2 separate regions of the Homo sapiens genome follow, and region 2 is linked to region 1. The links are contacts of gene promoters, found by promoter capture Hi-C in blood cells and fetal thymus (Javierre and others, 2016). All regions are on one chromosome and are shown on one strand. The core of a region is centred on a gene start or on the middle of the fragment in contact, and the rest is flanking DNA. Distances in the headings are between cores, read along the strand shown.

What was found. The method cuts DNA at HindIII sites, captures the fragments that hold promoters and counts their contacts. A CHiCAGO score of 5 or more calls a contact.
Region 2: a fragment that was not itself captured here is called in contact with the fragment with the promoter of MRPL44 in region 1 in 1 of 17 cell types (total B cells); the score reaches 7.0 in total B cells.

Annotation. Positions count from the first base shown.
Region 1 is chr2:223,953,289-223,960,097 of GRCh38, forward strand. It overlaps MRPL44 (mitochondrial ribosomal protein L44), which reads left to right and starts at 4,175. Exons shown (of 4, transcript NM_022915.5): 1 at 4,175-4,363; 2 at 6,246-6,714. The coding sequence starts at 4,185. RefSeq lists a silencer at 3,950-4,019 and an enhancer at 4,090-4,259. The HindIII fragment of the contact is 10,687 bases long and covers 1-6,284 here.
Region 2 is chr2:223,769,823-223,776,631 of GRCh38, forward strand. AP1S3 (adaptor related protein complex 1 subunit sigma 3) reads right to left here. Exons shown (of 5, transcript NM_001039569.2): 3 at 6,079-6,187. Among named protein-coding and RNA genes, the nearest start is that of AP1S3, 64 kb to the right of the region's middle. The HindIII fragment of the contact is 1,260 bases long and covers 1,715-2,974 here.

The sequences.
Region 1 (6,809 bases), core at 2,925-5,424:
CATGTCCAGATAATTTTTGTATTTTTAGTAGAGATGAGGTTTCACCATGTTGGCCAGGCTGGTCTTGAACTCCTGACCTCATGATCCGCCTGCCTCGGCCTCCCAAAGTGCTGGGATTACAGGCATGAGCCACCGTGCCAGCCCAGATTTTTAAATTTATAACTTTTAATGGCTATAATCTGGTTAACTCTAATCAAGAGGAAATACTTATAAAACTTTTCAGTGTCTTTCAGCAGTTGTTATAATGTATACCTAATCAATGTTTATCTGTTCAGTACATGTTAAATCTGTGGGACAGACTGAAAAAGAAGTCTACAGTGATTTATTGCTTTTGGACATGCTTCGTCTCCTTGGGCCTTGCCAAAAGATCTGGAGACACAGTTTCATCCCAGAGAGGAAAGAAGACTTGGTAATTTTGTTCAGTAGTTTTGCCAGGAGTTCTTTTAACCCATTCTCTGGATTTTACCCCAGTTTTACACTGCAGGCCAGCATAATAATCACACTGCAAAAATCTCAAACCACTTTTACAATGCTTTATTTAAAAAGCAAAACAAAAGTGTGAAGTTTCAATATTATAGTCATAGTGGTCTAATATCTCTACTTTCCCTCTCATTACAAGTTTTTACTTATTTTTATAACCCTTTAAAATATTCCTTTTCCTGTAATAGGTATCCCTCTCTCAGATCCAAACATTGCTCAGTTTAGCAGAAACATCAAGGAACACGTAAAGTGGAAACCCTGTGCTTGACATCTTCTCTGATATTTCCTGAACTTGTTTCTCAAAAGTATCCTTAATGACAGGAAAGGGGATCTATACCTACAGGGGTTAAAGGGTCAGGCAGCTTTCACTTTTTGGAGCGGAATTTACTAAGTCATCATCATTCCTGACGACTTTGTGCATGTTATGGAATGTTGATCCTCCTTTCCATCTCTTCTGCATCTAGCAAAATCCACGCTTCCATCTAGAACCAGCACTCTGAGGCCATCCCCTAAGTCTCATGAATATAGAGCATTTTTTATTTTGCCATTTTCATCCAATTGATTTGACCCTATGTGTATTAATTATCTGTTGCTATGTAACAAATTACTCCAGAACTTAGTGGCATAAAGCAACAAACGTTTATTTTCTCATACATTTCCTGAGGGCCAGGAGTTTGGGAGCAGTTTAGCTGGGTGATTCTGGCTGAGGGTCTCTCATGAGGATGCAGTCAAAGCGCTGGCCAGTAGGCAGTCATCTGAAAGTCTGACTGGGAGTGGAGGATCCAATTCTAAGACAGCTCATTCATTCACATGGCTGTTAGCGGGAGGCCTCAGCTACTCATCACATAAGCCTTTCCACATAGTTTCTTAGGCAACATCATAACATAGCAGCTGACTTCCTGACAGGAGACTAATCCAAGAAATACAAGGTATCTGACCAAAATGGAAGCTATGATGTATTTTATTACCTAACCCCAGAATTGATAAAAACATCCATGGTCTATTGGTTACACAGACTAATCCCAGCACAATGTGAGAGGGGAATGTACAAGGGTGTAAGTACCAGGAGGTGGGGCTTGTTGAGAGCCATCTTGCTGGCCGCTAACACACCAAAAAAGTTTTGCTTCCATAATTATGAATTAAAGTGTTTATAACAGAATTATACTAACATTGATGCATTTTTTTTGAGAAAATGTTTTCTGGAATAAGCTCCATGAAACCAATTAAATTTCTTGATCAATTTTCTATACAGCACAAGTATCCTATTTCTAATTGTATTTTCATGTTTCTATTGCTTAATGTATTTTCATGAATTTTTTTCCACATTTATTTCCTAAGATGTTATTTGTTGCTCAGGTTTACTAAGGCTTTTTGCTAATCAGTTTTACTATCATGAGTTTTCTGTTGCAGCTTTTAGATCTATCAAGTCAAATTTTCCATCAAGTCAAATTTTCCAAAGCTAGGTTGAACAGATGTAACTTTGGTGAAGACTGATTCTATATCGATATTTATCAGTAACTCCAATTTTGTATTTTGAACAGTTTTAACTATAGTAATTTTCATTCTATGGTAATTATTTCTGTCTGTAATTTTCCTTGTGAGTTGGATTAAAGGCCACTATTTGGTAGTTATTCCTTAGCTAATCTATGAAGTAGTGGTGAGTAATCCCAGGTGGTTCAGAATTGCTTGATTGTTCAGGAAGGTCCTATAGCAGAGCTTACTAACTTTGTTATCCATCTTTCTGTGCCCCGTATTCCAGCTGCCTTCACCATCATTGAAGGAATATATAAGCAATATCCCTGGCATCAAAACACAAAAGGTTGTGTTCCCCAAGGGTTAAAGTGAACCCTCAATCGCCTCACCTCCTCTTCCTAAGTGTGACTTTTCCCCACCCTTCCACCTGACCTTAACCCAATGAAAACTCGAAAGTTGTTGACATCTGTGAGCTTTGATCAAATTAGGGCTAACAGCAGGTTAAAGGAAAAATCAGGTTTTTGAGGGCTGAAAAACACATTGGCCTTTTTCTTCCTTAAAGTTTTCTGAGCCTGGATCCTGGAACCAAGTCCTCCTCCTATTATGTGTTTATTGAATAAATAGACAAATGTATGAGCAGATTTTAAAAAACTGGTTAATTCCTAAGTTCCATGAAGGGCATTAGTAGAAGAAATCTTTTGAGGACCTACATTTTTTTAATCTGCAAATGATGCTCTCGTTGTTGTATGACTGAGAAACTCTCAACACAGAGACACCTCATTTTAACTTAACATGATTGTGCTACAACTGGCTTAGATTATTTTTCCTAATAAATGAAATTCTACAGAAATGACAGTTCCCTGCATTTTCTCCTAATCCATTTATTGGATTGATGTTCCATGAATTTTCAATACTTTACATACATTGAAACAAGAAGGTCAATCGTAACCTCCTTTCACCCCTTCTTGGAGAATTTCCTTCAACCAGAAATCCATCAGTTTGTTTTTTGGTGTGTGCTCAGCCCCTCTTTTGCTCTCTCCCTCCCCAAAGGGAACCCTTTTATAAGCTGAGATGAACCATTTAGATTCTCCCTTTTGAAATGGTCAAGCTGAGAAACCCAAATTGAGTTCTATGATCCTGGCACTGAAGATTCTCGGGCTAAGTCATAACATGCTTTGTGGTCTGTGTTTCAGAGAGATGAATGTAGGTGAGCTGTGTCTGGGGAAGGGAGGAAGGTACCAGGCCAATTACACTAACCACGGAAAGAGGTGAGGAGAGCCACCAGGTACCTGCAGTGGAAATAAATGGAAAAAGCACTTGGTGGAAACTGCACCGAAGAGGGGGTTTGTCGAAACAAAAACAATCAAAGACATAGGAGTTCAATCTGGGTGACTGCTGGGGACACAGATGCCTTTAACAAAGAGATCACAGAAAGCATTGCCCCTTTGAGGGTCTAGATGTTCAGCAGGCAACTCAAAACTGGGAATTCAAACAAGCCTCCCTTTGTGACTTAATATGTTCTTTTAAAAATTGTACTGTATTAACAGTTTGGTAGGAAAGCAATAGAATTACATTGTTAAAGAGTGTTAACATAAAGAAGGAAGAAACTGTAATTCCCCTATTACCGTTTTATGTTTTTTTCCAGTCATTTTCCGGATGTTTAAAAATATGTACTATTAGATTGCTTTTAAAGAAAAATTTTAATTTTGGATAAGCCAACATTTCTGAGTCTAGGGTTTCCAAAACTAAGGCTTTTGGAGGCGTGCTGGGTCAAAAATAGAAGCTCGGTAAATACTTGCTCAGTAGTGGCCTAGAACACTAAATATAAATTAAAAATGTTTTCTTTTTTTGAGGATTTAAATGTTTCCTTAACCTGAAAGCGAAACAGATTTTTGTTTGTTTTGCTGTAACGAGAGAGGAAGGAACAAGAGAGTGACAGGGTGAAGCAACTTCTCCCAGAAACTTTTGGGCGCAAACGCCCTCAAGTCCGGATCATTGGAAAGTAACTCGAAGAGAGGAGAGAACTAGCGCAAGCGTAGCCTCAAGGCGGCCGCAATCACCCCGCCCCGGGGCTGTCTCCGCCCCTGCCCTCTCTCAGTCGCCCCGCCCCGGGGGCTGTCTCCGCCCCAGCCTTCTCTTCGCGTTCCGCGTTCCGGGTTCCGGGGGAAGTGTGTTACGGGGACACTGGCCCGACTACTTTCGTTCCGTCTTCCATCGTTTTCTCTCGTGCAATGGCGTCCGGGCTGGTAAGATTGCTGCAGCAGGGACATCGCTGCCTCCTGGCTCCAGTCGCCCCCAAGCTGGTCCCTCCGGTTCGGGGAGTGAAGAAGGGATTCCGCGCCGCCTTCCGCTTCCAGAAGGAGTTAGAGCGGCAGCGCCTTCTGCGGTGCCCGCCGCCGCCCGTGCGCCGGTAGGAGCCACCTCGGGAAGAGGTCTCAGGGTGGCGGTCGCAGACACTGGGTCTTCTTCCCGCGGCGTCGTGTCTGCGGCTGATGCGCCCCTGGGTTAAGCCTTAGGAAGTTTGCGATGGAGACACCCGTGAGCTGTGGGCGCGGGGCCTGAGGCAAAAAAAATGGATTTGTGCCGCGGGCGGTAGAGCTTCGGGCTGTTCCCGACGTTTTGAAACTACCATTTAGGATTTTGGCTACTGAAAATTGGGAGAAATGGGGCTAACTGGAGGGTCTTCCTTATGTGGACTTGGATGTTGTAGTCCCCGTTTGTAATGCCTGAGAATTCCGATAAGCGGGAAGAAAGCAGCCCACAGCATCGTAAATTAAGGAGAAAAAAAATTAATCTACAACCTGAATTCTGCTGTCTAGAGTAAAAGGAAAAAAAGTTAGCTTTAGATTTTTGCCCTAATTAATGCTGTTCTGGTAACAGGTTTGGCAGAGAGAGACACAGGTTTTTATAGCTTCAAACCAGATCATACTTTACATAATTTAAATTCCTTCATCTTGCTTTTTCTCTTTAATAATGTGTGTTTGACATGTTGTCATGGTATTACAAAGATATGTACCTCACTCTTTTTTATGGCTCTGTATATATGGGCCTATGAGCTCCATATTATTGCCATTAAAACCTATGTAACAGCGCGTAAAGGGGACGCATGTGTAGTATGAAATTTTGAAAGCTATTAGTACTTTAACATTGCCCTCCAAAAAATGTTGATCCACTTTGTACTCCTACCAGTAGGAACGGTCTTCTAACAGAGAAGATTATAGCAAAAAATAAAATCTCTTCTTAATTCCCATTCCCTTGTTTATTATAAGATTAAGTATTTTAGGCTCTCAAAGGTGGAAGAAACTTTATGGGTTGGACAGATTATATAGGTGTATATGTTATATGTATATCTTACGACTTTCAACCTAGGTTTTCATACTTTGCTTCCCTTTGTTTCTTAAAGGGGTTTTATATTGTGTTACGTATAAGTAATCCAGAGATGACTTAAAGTATACAGGAGGATGTGCATAGGTTATATGCAGATACAGGTATACCTCATACATATTGTAGGGTTGGTTCTAGACCACGACAATAAAACGAGTCACATGACTTTTTTAGTTTCCCAGTGTATACCTAAGTTATGTTTATACTATTCTGTAGTTTATTAAGTGTACAGTAGTAGTGTCTAAAAAGCAATATATGTACCTTAATTTAAAATACTTTATTGCTAAAAAATGGTAACACAGAGACACAAAGTGAGCACATGCAGAATTGCTACAGACCTTCAGTTTGTAAAAATAAAATGCAATAAATCTGTGAAGCACAATAGACCGAAGTACAGTGAAACGAAGTGTGCCTGTACTACACCATTTATATGAGAGACTTGAGCATCCATGAATTTCAGTATCCAGGAGAGTCCTTGGAACCAATCCCCTACAGATATTGAGGGATGACTGCAAATATAACATACTAGTGTTTATGGCTTGAATCTGTGAAATTAACATTTATGCTTCATACTTAGGTATAAAACATAGTATCATGGTTAGAGCAGAAATAAGGAACCTAAAAGTTAGGCTAATGGCTTGGTCTTTTATATTGAAGAACCAATTTCATGTGACAATTGGATCAAAGGGAAAATTAATCCAGTCATATATGTAGAATATAGCAAAGGACTGCCAGTATTTATCTGACTTTAGTCTTAACATTTAGAATATCAACCTGGCATTAAAAAGAAATATAACCTTCTTTCATTTCCTTTATATAATTAATAACATTACAACACAGTGAACAATTTTTATATCACAGTAACAGGTTGTTCTCTTTACCATCTCTTACTGTCTTTACATTTTCAGTTCAGAGAAGCCGAACTGGGATTACCATGCAGAAATACAAGCTTTTGGACATCGGTTACAGGAAAACTTTTCCTTAGATCTTCTCAAAACTGCATTTGTTAATAGCTGCTATATTAAAAGTGAGGAGGCCAAACGCCAACAACTTGGGATAGAGAAAGAAGCTGTTCTTCTGAATCTTAAAAGTAATCAAGAACTATCCGAACAAGGGACATCTTTTTCACAGACTTGCCTTACACAGTTTCTTGAAGACGAGTACCCAGACATGCCCACTGAAGGCATAAAAAATCTTGTTGACTTTCTCACTGGTGAGGAAGTCGTGTGTCACGTGGCTAGAAACTTGGCTGTGGAGCAGTTAACACTGAGTGAAGAATTCCCAGTGCCCCCAGCTGTGTTACAGCAGACTTTCTTTGCAGTTATTGGAGCCCTGTTACAGAGCAGTGGACCTGAGAGGACTGCACTTTTCATCAGGGTACGTAACTATTAATTGGACATGCTTGAGATAGACAGAAGGGAAAATATTCTTTTGTAATTCACTTCTTTGATATATCACCTTGGAAGTGAATT
Region 2 (6,809 bases), core at 1,095-3,594, 190 kb before region 1:
AGGCTCCGCCCCCCGGGGTTCACGCCATTCTCCTGCCTCAGCCTCCCGAGTAGCTGGGACTACAGGCGCCCGCTACCTCGCCCGGCTAATTTTTTGTATTTTTAGTAGAGACGGGGTTTCACTGTGTTAGCCAGGATGGTCTCGATCTCCTGACCTCGTGATCCACCCGCCTCGGCCTCCCAAAGTGCTGGGATTACAGGCGTGAGCCATCGCGCCCGGCCGCGATCCTATTTTTAAAAACCGTATATGTTTAGAGGGACATGTAAAAATATGCATCATTTTTGCAGTTTTAAACAATAGAAAGAAACAAAAAGAAATCACAATAGATTAGACATCCATGTACATGAAAGAAGGTATGAGAAGAAAGCAGTTACCAGAGGTCAGAAAAGGCAGAAGTCAGGAGTTATAGTAGCAAGCTGAGGAACCTCGGAGTTCAAGGCAGGCGTAGACCAGGAATCCAAGACAGACAGGAGCCTCATTAGGAGAAACCAGCAATTAAACTCCTGCAAAGTGAACCTGACAGATACTAATGAAAATTCTCCAGGAACTTCTTATACCCCACTTTGACACGTCCCCAGGTCTGGGTCCTCCAGCAGCCATGGGGCAATTAATTTACTGTACTAGTTTCAAGGGATAAGGGTAAGGTAAGGTGGTATTCAGAGTTAGAGAGACAATACACACACACACACACACACACACACACACACACCCCTTGATATACAGTTACTATCTGTAGCTCTGAAGAGAAATGTATATGCAAGTTCCATAGGCATTACAGAGAATGTTACAACTGAGCAACTATTTCACATACAGCAACACAAAAGTGCTACCCTATAGTTATTCTTTGAGTCTACTGCCATCTGAGAATGAGAGAAAATATCCAGGAAGACCCTTAGACCAGTTCATTTTTTTTTTTTTTTTTTTGGAAACAGTCTTACTCCGTCACCCAGGCTGGAGTGCAGTGGAATCATCTCAGCTTGCTGCAACCCCTGCCTCCTGGGTTCAAACTATTCTACCGCCTCAGCCTCCCAAGTAGCTGCGATTACAGGCATATGCCACCATGCCTGGCTAATTTTTTTATTTTTATTTTTAGTAGAGACAGGGATTCACCATGTTGGCCAGGCTGGTCTTGAACTCCTGACCTTAAGTGATCCCCCCCACCTTGGCCTCCCAAAGTGCTGGGATTACAGGCATGAGCCACCGTTCCCAGTCCCAAGTCAGGTTTCTGAAGCTACTGCCTAATTACTTATGCCTGTAATCCCAGCACTTTGGGGGGGCTGAGGCGGGCTGATCATTTGAGGTCAAGAGTTCGAGACCAGACTGGGCAACATGGTGAGACCCTGTCTCTACTAAACATACAAAAAATTAGCCAGGCATGGTGGCACACGCCTGTAATCCCAGCTACTCGGGAGGCTGAGGCAGGAGAATCGTTTGAACCCAGGAAGCAGAGGTTGCAGTGAGCCAAGACTGCACCACTGCACCCCAACCTGGGCAACGGAGTAAGACTCTGTCTCGGGAAAAAGAAACAAAATAAAATAAAATAAAATAATAAATTCCACCTTGAGGTTGTCCCAATACAACAAAAATATGTACTTGATGCTCAAGTGATTCCACTCCTTCTAATTATGCAAATACCCCGGCTTCTTGCTCCCTCACCATGTTAATAAACATGAGCCTCTTTATTTATTTTCTCGTGTATCTAGATTCTGAATAAAGCTTTCAAATGGTAGAAACTATCATTTAACTTTATCTTCAATGTCCTAGCCTTGTGCTCTTCTGTAATTTGGCTTAAGGTTCTTTTCTTACAGCAGAATTCATGGTGCAGTGAGATTATTTCTGGCATTTCACCAACTGAATCCTTTTGGACAGAATCTAAGAAGCACATGTACTTATTAAATGATGCTCTAAAGTAAATACAAAAAGTTTCAAGTTACATGCAGCAAATGCTTCAAATAATAGTAAACTATATAACTACCATAAAGCTATATATAAAATAAGAATAGGCCGGGCACAGTGGCTCACGCCTGTAATCCCAACACTTTAGGAGGCCGAGGTGGGTGGATCACCTGAGGCCAGGAGTTTGAGACCAGCCTGGCCAACATGGCAAAAACCCATCTCTACCAAAAATACAAAAATTAGCCAGGCATGGTGGCACATGCCTGTAATCCCAGCTACTAGGGAGGCTGAGGTAGGAGAATCGCTTGAACCCGGGAGGCGGAAGGTGCAGTGAGCCGAGACCGCGCCACTGCATTCCAGCCTGGGCAACAAGAGCGAGACTCCGTCTCAAAAAAATAAATAAATAAAATAAAACAAGAATAATTATAATGCAATGTACAACTATATAGCAATTAATAGTTTATTAAGTATTGCTATCACGCCATCTCTTTGCCCCTCCCAGCAGCCCTATAAGGTTAGCAAAGTAAACACTTCTCTTAACCTTTTTGAGGGTCATTTTTCTCATCTGCAAAACGGAGACACATGACAGGCCCCAAATCCTTGAATTGGTGAGAGAGTGAGCCTACACCAGCATCCGGGGGACCCATAGTGCTCTTCCCCTGACAGCAAAAAACAAACAAACAAAAAACTCCCTACATCAAATTCAAAAGCTCTCTGGGAGATCAACATCCTCACACACTGAGGCACCAGTAAAAATTCACACTGTAGTCTGTAATGCAGAAATATGGCAGGTATCTAAATCCTCAGACTCTTATCTGGCATGAGACTTTGAGGCATTTCCTCTGAGCCTCTATAAATTGAGGTTAATGCTACTTACTGAAGATCGGAAGATTAACTAGTTAATCCTCGTAAATCTCCTTGGAATTGAAAAGTGCTAAAAAAAAATACATAACTTAAATTAGTAGCCAGAGATTTTGATCCGTCTGTCTTCAGCAGATAATATTTTCCAGTGTTATAAGAGAAGCTCAGTACCAAGTTTTCCCCTAGATAACATTATATAAGGGCAGAATTCAAGGAAAGCTTTAGTATTAATATGGGAGGAAAAGAAAATCAAAGAGAAATATTTTATTGCTGAGATTATGTCAATGAGAATCAGTACTGGAAGTCTTTGCTCATCACTGTTAATTAACAAGAACCGAACTTCTACTGGGCATATAGCCTTGAATTGCTCTTAGCTGCTCTTAGCTTAATGAAAGATTCATTGAATTTTTTAATAAATTAAATTTTGGTACATGACAAAGACAGAGCTTCCAAAGGTATACCAAAATAGAATGGGAAATTAATGTTAGAGAAATGGGAATTCATTCTGACTCTCTTTGTACTTTAACTGGGTTTAGCATTGGTGAAGGTCACTCAAGTTCTCTTGAGAAGCATAATGCCCTGAGATATCTGGCTGAAATTTGGTCAGATAGATTGAGATCAAAATTCAGCCCCAATTCACATTATCACAGTTGGTTTAATCTAGGAAAATACAACAGGTCAAGCCGGAGTTCAGAAATGAGAAAGAGAAGGCAGGTTACGGGAATGCCCAGACCTCAAGGAAACTTCTTCAGGCTCTTGCAAAAGGCCAAGTCTGTAGTTTATTTCAAAGGAAAGTACAAAAATGTGAGAATTCATTTGAATAGTAGAAAGTATTAAATAATATGTTTGAAAACATGTTATTATACATTTGCAAATTTCTCCTTAAAAAAATGAAAATAAACTTGGTATACCAAGAGGAGAAAGAAAAGATGGTCTAGTTGTCTTATTGCTGTTATATACTGACCAACAACCTGAAATCCCTGAAGCAACATTTTAGGTCTTAACAACATCATTTACAAGGGGGAAAAAAGGGAGGGAGGAAAAATTCTTTCAGAAATCTTTCCAGTGTTCATCCTTATGAAAAGTGTTGCAACAAATCTGATAAAACGTGTTCAATATTGCAAATACTGCTCATTCCATTAAAGAGAATAACAACAAGAACAAAAAAAAACTCTGCTGGAAGCAAATTATCCTAACACTTAACAAAAACTTCAGTGAGTAAGGGAATAGGGAAGAGGGTATTATGAGAAGAAAACATTTTCCAAATCCAATGATTTATTTCTTGAAACTGTGAAATGGATTAAATGTTTTTGGAACATTTGCTATCAAGTCTGGCCCACAGCTGGTTACAAGTTAAGCGGTGGGGGGATAAAATGAGTCACAAAGCACTGGTCTCAAGAGAATTGCAATTTGGTGGTCAAGCAAATCGGGTGCCAGTTAGGGACACTCCAAGGTCATTTCTTGTTGCTGGAGAACTGTCAGGTATATAAAAAGGGAAATGTAGGCTGGAGGCAGTGGCTCATGCCTGTAATCCCAGCACGTTGGGAGGCCAAGGCAGGCGGATCGCCCGAGGTCAGGAGTTCAAGACTAGCCTGGCCAACATGGTGAAACCCCATCTCTAATAAAAATATAAAAATGAGCCGGGCATGGTGGCGGGGGCCCGTAAACCTAGCTACTCAGGAGGCTGAGGCAGGAAGATCGCTTGAACTCGGGAGGCAGAGGTTGCAGTGAGCAGAGATCGTGCCATTGCACTCCAGCCTGGGCAACAAGAACAAAACTCCGTCTCAATAAATAATAAATAAATAAATAAATAAATAAATAAATAAATAAATAAGGGTAGTGTATCAAGGATGGAGGAGTGGTCAGGGATCCATGCTTTGAAAGGTTAAACAACAGGCTGGGGGGGTTGATTTTATTTATTGTACATGATGGAAAGTGGCTGTGAAGGAATGCCACACCTATATCTGGTTTTTTTAAGGAAGATGGTAACTAATAGGGCAAGAGGGCGAACAGAGAAAAGCTCAGAGGCATAAAAAGCCAGGTAAGATGTTTAAGAGAAAAGCAAAATTGAAATCCCAAGTGAACCTATATTAGTGAGAGTGGAAAGAAGGAAATGAATGTCAGCCCAATTTGAATAGACAGAGGCAGATTCTGGTAAAGCATAGGAAAAGACAAAACAAGCTGCGTCCTTTTGCACTGAAGGATCCTGGAACATAACAAATTCCAATCACAAGACAGAACGGATTTTCAGTAGATGAGTTTGGTTCTGGGCCATGAGAAGCCCAGTGAAGACTGTCACCAACAAGGGGAAGAAGAGTCACTTAGTAAGGGATTTCCAGGACAGAGCGTCAGTACACACAGAGTTAGGAAGAGATGAGGGCATTTAGGGCTGGGCAGAGGAAGGGAGCTGAGTGGAAGAAACCAAGGAGGCGCTTCAGAAATCAATGTCATGGCAAAATCAAGAAGGGCGAATTTAAAGAAAGCGTCATGGTGAGCAAGGGTCCAGTGCTGCAGCGAGAAGCAGGTGAAAGCAGGTGAAGACTCAAGAGGAATCGCTGGTGTCAACCCGCAGGAGGGTTCAATGGTAACTTGCTGATTTCCCTGCAGAGTAAAGATGGACCCATGCTGTAAGCACTGCCGAGTGAATGAGTTCTGAGGACTGGAGCACCTAGCATAGTACATCACTTGGCAGAAAATGCAAAAAGATTATTGCATAGCAATGTGAAGGAAAAGGATTTGGGTTTTTTGTTTGTTGCTATTTTTCTTATGCATAAATAATTAAGAATACTTATAGCTTAGAAAAAAAGCCAGAGAAAGGATAAAAAGTCAAAACAGAAAAGAGACGACAAAGCCAATGAAGAATAAAGAACAGAATATCAAGAAATCCTTCACAGTTAAATTCTGGTTCACTGAAATAAGGTCTCTGGTGTATTTGTGGTATGAAGATAAAGATACATCCACCTCTTGAAAGCTTTGGGTGGCTGGGCACGGTAGCTCATGCCTATAATCCTAGCTCTTTGGGAAGCTGAGGTGGGAGAATTGCTTGAGGCCAAGAGTTCAAGACCCACCTGGGCAACATAGCAGGACTCCATATCTATTTAAAAAGAAAAAAGGAAAGCTTTGGGTCTTTCATTTACTAAGAATTATAGGTAGGGAGAAAAATCTTGTATTCTAATCTTAGGGGGACTAAGGTGATCTTCGGTTCAAGTTCAATTCATATTTTAGATGTGACAGAGAGAAGGGATGTGACCAGAGACAGAACTGAAGTAAGAGCTGAGATGGGGACTGTAGCTAATCCTAACCGACAAGGACAACACTTACATTTCCAAAATATTTGTCCAGCAGCTCCACGTAACGATGCACAATCTCTAGCGTCAAGAGCTCATTGTCCTGATTTTCTATTGCACAGCAAAAATATAAACTAGCATACCTTGAAATGAAAAATAACAAAAGCAAAATATGACAATACATTAAGCAACCTGGAGACAGTTTTTCCCACGAATATGCAGTCACCTCCTCCCCCGCCGAGCCTCTCCTCATCCAAGAATGAAATCATTATTCATCACCCCCAATAGCCTCCTGAAATATAAATCAGAATATATGAAAATTCTGTGGGGGTTGGATTACTTCCATTAATTACGCATGAAAGACTCTCAACAAAATTTTACCTTGAAGAGCTATTATCAGGAGGACAGTATCCTTTCGCTCTTGGTAATCAGGGTGTCTTCACACCCCTCTCCAGCTTGTCAATTGTTTTTTGTAAAATAGAAAGCCCTGACCAGTGCTGTCAGGAGCCCACGCTCCCCACCCTCCCACTTCACAATGGGCTTCAGTCATTCTGTGTGAGCCTCCCTCCTCAATTTGTCAAACTCCAACCTTGGGCCCAGCAGAAGGAGCTTTGCAGGCACTTGCTGGTAATTTACTCCATTGAATATCAATCTGTGAAGGTTGCCTCTGTTTTTCCCAACGAGCTTTATAAACACCCTTTGCAAGAGCATATCTAAGGATCATAACTCCTTCCGGGAGTTGCAGTAGGGTGTTGGATGCAGGGT